Regions from separate parts of the Homo sapiens genome. Here region 2 is linked to region 1. The links are contacts of gene promoters, found by promoter capture Hi-C in blood cells and fetal thymus (Javierre and others, 2016). All regions are on one chromosome and are shown on one strand. The core of a region is centred on a gene start or on the middle of the fragment in contact, and the rest is flanking DNA. Distances in the headings are between cores, read along the strand shown. Region 1 holds the start of SYNE1-AS2 (SYNE1 antisense RNA 2). Region 2 overlaps SYNE1 (spectrin repeat containing nuclear envelope protein 1).

Region 1 (3,346 bases), core at 140-2,639:
TTCTCCCACCTCAGCCTCCCTGGTAGCTGAGACTACAGGCACGTGCCACCATGGCAGGCTAATTTTTTAAATTTTTTGTAGACAGGAGGTTTTGCCATGTTGCCAAGGCTGGTCTTGTACTCCTGAGCTCATGCAATCTGCCTGCCTCAGCCTCCCAAAGTGCTGGGATTACAGGTGTGAGCCACTGCGCCCAGCCTAGAAACCCTTCTTATGAATGTTGATGTTCTTATTGATATTTTCCTAATGCTGTTACTGAATAACTGGGTTTAGAGGGATCACCACTATAAACCTCCCTTCACGGCCCTTCAGATGGCACAAATCCACGGGAACCATGAAGCAGGCCAGGGTAGATCAGCACTGGTCAGAACACCTGGGCTACTTCAGTGCCCAAGCCCTGGAAGCATCCAGCATGGTGGGTCTCTTTTGGCTGGCAGCCCCACTGGCTCCAGGCTCAGGTTTCTGCTGCATCCCTTTAGCTTCCATATGTGTTGCTGCTTCTGTTGATTTTCTCTACATTTCCTTTCTTCTTCTTGTGCTTTCTCTTTGATTTGCTACTTTGGGCTAAGCAATCAATCTAGTTGATCAGTTATGCTTTTGCTCTGACCTGAGACTGCTTGTTCAGCAGTACCATTAGGGATGATATACATGCACAGGAATGCTAGAAGTTTCGTGTGAAGTAAGAAGACACAAAGGAGGTGCTATCCATATGCAAAAAAGATAAAGAGTCCTTATGCATGCCGCCTGTGTTGGGGATATCAATGGTTAACAGTTGGACTTTTACAGAGTTGAGCAGGATCTTCAGAGAGTTATTGGTGTACTCTAGTCTTCTCTTTCTTCCTTTCTCTCTCTCTCTCTCTCTGTTTCTCTCTCTCTCTGTCTTTCTCTCTCTCACACACACACACACGTGTGCACATACATGCACCCCTATGTATACTCAAGGAAGAGGTGAGGGGGTGGCTTACCTTACCTCAAGGCAGAAGGGTTCCGGCAGTGCCACCTGAAGAACAGGATATTTGTCCCCTGCATTTGGCAGGCATGGGAGTCTGATCTCTATCCCCCAAAGAATCCTAAAAGTGACAGACAGGCTGGCTAACTGCTGCTATATTTGCCAAAGGATAAATGATGGCTTGTGGGGTCCTGCACCTCAAAGTTAGTTGGAGGTAAATGCCAGAGGTCACTCTGGCCCAAATATGAACCAGGAGAGGAAAAGAAAGGAAGAGACCACCATATGAGGATATTATAGGTGGCCTAAGAAGGCTATCTGGAGGATAAACAGACCTTAGCAATGAGAAGTTAAAGAAAGGCCTCCAGGCTGAGGAATGAGAAAGTAAAGAGCCAAAGAACAGCGCACTGTCGTGTCTAGGGAACTTCACTGGGAAGTCCAAGCATGAAAAAAGTCAGAAAAACACAAGACCAAGGCCTATGGGAGGAGGAATGAATGCTAAACCTTGCCTGGCCTAGAGGGCACAGATGCCCATCCAGTGAGTCAGAATGCCTCACCCGCCTCCTGCCAGTCTGAGCCTATGGGAGAAAGAAGCCTTACACAGGGTGGCAGAATAGAAATAAAATGAAGGAAGAGAAAGAAAGATATTTACTCCCTTCCACACTGTTGGTCTCCTGCTCCCAGCAGATCTGAGGTGGGGGTAAGAATAGAAGCCTTCAATTTAAGTTAAGTTCAAAGTTTTCATTACCAAATAGGCCAGGATGTTTGAATTGTGGAATTGAGATTGTTTTTCAATGTATAGTGACTATATGTCCTTTGACTAACTAGGGGGCCATAGAAGTCGACCCTCCTCAGCTATATCATCCAGGGAAAAGAGAATAACTAGCCCCACTCAATATTTTAAAGCAACAGTGGGGACAAAAATAAAATTGTTTTATGATAAAATCCTACAGTGATGTTTGCCCCAGATAGTGTTACATCTGAGCAGACAATGGGTATTTCCAGGGAGAATCAAGAGCAGATTTTTGGTCACCACCTGGGAATTCTGGGTAGGTCTAGCTCTACTTTCAGAATGCCCTCTCACATCTTCCCTGGAACCTCAGTTAGAGCTTCCACTCTCCCACCCAGTGTTAACACAATCCTTCCTCTTTCTATTTGCCCATCACTTCATGTGTTTGGCAACTGTGTCCACTGATTTTCCTTCTTGGAAAGGCATATTAACATTGGAGCTGGCTTCCATGATGAGACTTGTGTGGCTTTGACAATTAAGCTGCACGTGAACAGAATTTCTACTGAATGAGTATTCTTCTGGTCTTCAGAGATATTGATGAAATCTTGCTTGATATTTAGTTTATAGAAGCAGACTTAATGCAGAAACTGGAGCATGCCAAAGAAATAACTGAAGTAGCAAAAGGAACCCTGAAGGATTTCACGGCTCAAAGTACACAAGTGGAGAAGTTTATTAATGACATAACAACATGGTTCACAAAAGTGGAAGAATCGTTGATGAACTGTGCCCAAAATGAGACTTGTGAAGCATTGAAAAAAGTCAAGGTAGGTAATAAACTATCATTAAGTGCTTCCATTCAAATGGTGATTGTAGTTCTGTTTTGTGGTGACTATAATAAAAAATATAACCTCTGCTCTCAGTTACCCATATGAACACCAGACCAACTTATTTATGACATTGAACACAGCAAAGTAAGCAACACGTGAAGAACTGGGTGCAGGTGTTCAGAAATCAAAAATGAATACCTTGAAAATAGAAAGCATGTGTTGCTGTAGTGCCTGCTCAGAGTCTATGCTTGTTCAAAGTTTTTTTTTCTTTTTTATAAAAGGGTGGAGCCTCTGGAAGAACTATGTGACTTCCACAAATTTTCAAACTTGAGTATCCAATAGTTTTTCATCACTTAATTATATTTATTGGTCACTGTGACTTCTTTCATCCAGATAATGTATATTTTTTGAAAAAGAAGAAGTTGAGAAAACATTCTATTTCCATGTTTTCTATTTTTTTATTTTTATTTTTTGAGATGGAATCTCACTCTGTCACCCAGGCTGGAGTGCAGTGGCACAATCTGGGCTCACTGCAACCTCCCCTCCCAGGTTGAAGTGATTCTTCTACCACAGTCTCCCCAATAGTTGGAACTACAGGCACCCACCACCATGCCCAGCTAAGTTTTGTATTTTTAGTAGAGATGGGTTTCATCATGTTGGCCAGGCTGGTCTCGAACTCCTGACCTCAAATGATCCACTGGCCTCAGCCTCCCAAAGTGTTGGGATTACAGGTGTGAGCCACCACACCTGGCCCATTTTCATGTTTCCTATCCATATTAATAGATAACATTCCTAATTAGCTATCTGTAAAGGACAAGCACTGAGTTGACTTTTCAACAAATGCAA
Region 2 (3,209 bases), core at 107-2,606, 110 kb after region 1:
AATGAGGTACGCTGTTAAAATTATATTTATTTTGTATAACTGGGGTCTAAGGATACTGAGGCACACATTCTCCTACATATTCATCACCGTGAGGTAGGAAAATGCTGCCTGGCTGGGACAAGAACCCAGGAGCATGTGACAATCCTTCAGAAGGCAGGAGGAAAGAAAGATATTTTTAGATGTTAATTAAGAGCTATGAAAGCATGGCATGGTAAGCATGTTTATCAACACAGGGTAACTTAACAGCTTTAGGAGTGAAACGTTGTACTTTGTCTTTCTTCTACTTTACATCTTTCTAGTTTTGGAAGCAGGATAACCTTGGAATAGACTGCCTGTTCATATGTGTAGTCAGATAAAGTTGCATTCTTTTGCAGTATATATCTTTCAGTATAACATAAAAATGAGAACATTTCATCTAGAGACAGCATATTGAGAAATAGTGGTTTCAGGTTTTTTACACTCTTGTGACTTCTGAAGATAGAGATCGAAGTGCATAGCGTCCATTTTTAGGCCTTATTTTGGTAAAAAACTACCTTCTGTAGGTCTTTCTGCTATCCCACAGTCACCCACCCTTAGCCACATTTGCAGAGGATGCTATGAAAGCACGAAATGAGAATTAACCCTTGTTATCCAAGACCAGACCAATCAGGAGGATGGTCAGGGGCTTGGGGGACTATTCCAATGCCATTTACTTCTGAGCTTCCCCCATTTTATCACTAGACTGCTAGTCTCCCAAACCCCTCTCCTTTCTAAAGGGGCCTCAGTGTCTCCCAGTTCTCTTTAGCTGCTACTTCAGTTTTCTGTTGCCAGCGGCCACCTCTTTCTGATCTGAAGGGGTGTCCCTGTTGCTCCAGTGTGCTCCCTGTGGCTCCTAGGTCTTCCTTGCTCCTGCGGTTCTGTCTGTCCAGCTGTTCCCTGCACCTCTGCTTCACTGTACTGGAAGGAGCCAGAGAGCTTCCTTCAGGTTGAGTATGTGCTCCTCAGGCCAACCTCGATGGCTGTTCTGTAGGAGGCCCCGTTCTTTAAGCATTCAGAAGGAATATAGTGTAAATTATGCAAGGGCTGGATTAGAGTGCATTTGAGAGTCACTCACTCAGATTATCAGATGACGATGTTGCAGAAAGTTTAAGTAGTTTGACCCTCTCTCCAGCTTCAGGACATCTCCACCTTTGTTCAAGCCCCCATTCTTGTGGCCCAGGAGGCTGCCCACAATTGCCAAAGACCCATCACTGGCTCCCACAATAGTTAGGAGCTGCATGAAAACAGGATACTGGTGGCCTGCTCTGCCCTTCCAGAGTTCGTACATGAAAATGCAAGTTAGCTTCCAATCAGCACCACCACCCTGTTGCTCAGGCATTAGGATGGAAACACACATAAACTGAATGTGGAGCAAAATGATGATTCTGTTCAAGGGATTTAATGGAGACAACTCAAAATTGCACATTAATTCTGATAATTATAAATTAGAAGTGAATCTGTGACTTTTCTTGTCATTAAGGCCAACCACATGACTTTTTTTCCCTTTCTAAGTTGGTAGTAGTCGTACTAGCCATCACAGCAGTAAGGAGGTACAGCTAATTTAGTGAAGATTACCAGTCATTGGGGCTTAATGGTTTATTAAGAGAGAAAATATATTAATATATCATATTAATATAATTGCATATATTAATATATCATATTAATATAATTGCATATATTAATATATCATATTAATATAATTGCATATATTAATATATCATATTAATATAATTGCATATATTAATATATCATATTAATATAATTGCATATATTAATATATCATATTAATATAATTGCATATATTAATATATCATATTAATATAATTGTATATATTAATATATCATATTAATATAATTAGAACATATTAATGTTCTAATGAGAGGGAAAGAAAATAGCAATAATGTAGAATTTAGTATATAATTTCATGTATCATCACATATTTCATCTGAGCTATTTTTGCTACCTTTTGCTGTCTGTGCCAGAAGTTCTACAAGTTCTGGAACACAGCTGCCCACATGAAAAGCTGGTGGTATCACAGTATCTAAATTTGTTCTTAGCTTCAGGAATGGTACTTTAAAAATGTCAAGCACTGTTATAGAATTACTATTTCTAAATTTCAACTGAATGGGTGTGAGGAAGTCCAGTATGGTTTTTTATATTTCCTAAAAAGTAATAGAAATACTTTAGTTTTTATTTCTTTCCCAACACTCTCTTGGAAGTATTCATGTTTTTTTAAGGAGGTAACCTAATTCCTACATTTTTCCTTTAAACACTTGTCTAAACTACTGAATTTGTGTGGAATGCTGTGCCTTTCTGGTTATCCTCTCTAAATTGTCTTATAGATTTCTTTTTTTTGAGACAGAGTCTCAGTCTGTTGCCCAGGCTGGAATGTAGTGACGTGATCTTGGCTCACTGCAACCTCACCTCCCAGGTTCAAGTGATTCTCCTGCCTCAGCCTCCCGAGTAGCTGGAATTACAGGTGCTTGCCACCACGCTGGACTAATTTTTGTATTTTTAGTAGAGATGAGGTTTCACCATGTTGGCCAGGCTGGTCTCGAACTCCTGACCTCAGGTGATCCACTTACCTCGGCCTCCCAAAGTGCTGGGATTACAGGTGTGAGCCACCATGCTTGGCTGTCTTACAGATTTCATTTTAAGGTTTGAATGCAGTTCATGAGCTGACTTGTGGCTGTTGTACTGACTGTTAAGCCCTCTGTCATTGCGACCTTATTATCATGGGCATCTGATGCTTTAGGGACATGTGTTGCCACACAAAGCTCAGTGATATATAGCGCACAGAGGTCTGTGGTTATTTTGTTTTGTTTTGTTTTTTCATATATGTAACAACTAAAATAGAATGTGAGAAGAACTGTGGTCTCTCATCTGATCTTGGAAGTTAAGCAGGGTTGGGCCTGGTTAGTACTTGGATGGGAGACTGCCCAGGAATACCAGGTACTGTAGGCTTAAAAAAAAAAAAAAAAAAAAGGCTGGGCGCGGTAGCTCATGCCTGTAATCCCAGCACTTTGGGAGGCCAAGGCGGGCGGATCACGAGGTCAGGAGATCGCGACCATCCTGGCTAACATGGTGAAACCCCGTCTCTACTAAAAATACAAAAACTTAGCCAGGCATGGTGGTGGGCGCTTGTAGTCCCAGCTACTTGGGAGGCTGAGGCAGGAGAATGACGTGAACC

What was found. The method cuts DNA at HindIII sites, captures the fragments that hold promoters and counts their contacts. A CHiCAGO score of 5 or more calls a contact.
Region 2: a fragment that was not itself captured here is called in contact with the fragment with the promoter of SYNE1-AS2 in region 1 in 1 of 17 cell types (neutrophils); the score reaches 5.4 in neutrophils.

Annotation. Positions count from the first base shown.
Region 1 is chr6:152,400,289-152,403,634 of GRCh38, reverse strand. It overlaps SYNE1-AS2 (SYNE1 antisense RNA 2), which reads right to left and starts at 1,389. Exons shown (of 2, transcript XR_007059819.1): 1 at 968-1,389. SYNE1 (spectrin repeat containing nuclear envelope protein 1) reads left to right here. Exons shown (of 146, transcript NM_182961.4): 47 at 2,294-2,497. The HindIII fragment of the contact is 21,096 bases long and covers 1-3,346 here.
Region 2 is chr6:152,289,721-152,292,929 of GRCh38, reverse strand. All of the region lies in intron 95 of SYNE1 (spectrin repeat containing nuclear envelope protein 1), which reads left to right. Among named protein-coding and RNA genes, the nearest start is that of SYNE1-AS1, 89 kb to the left of the region's middle. The HindIII fragment of the contact is 4,286 bases long and covers 1-3,209 here.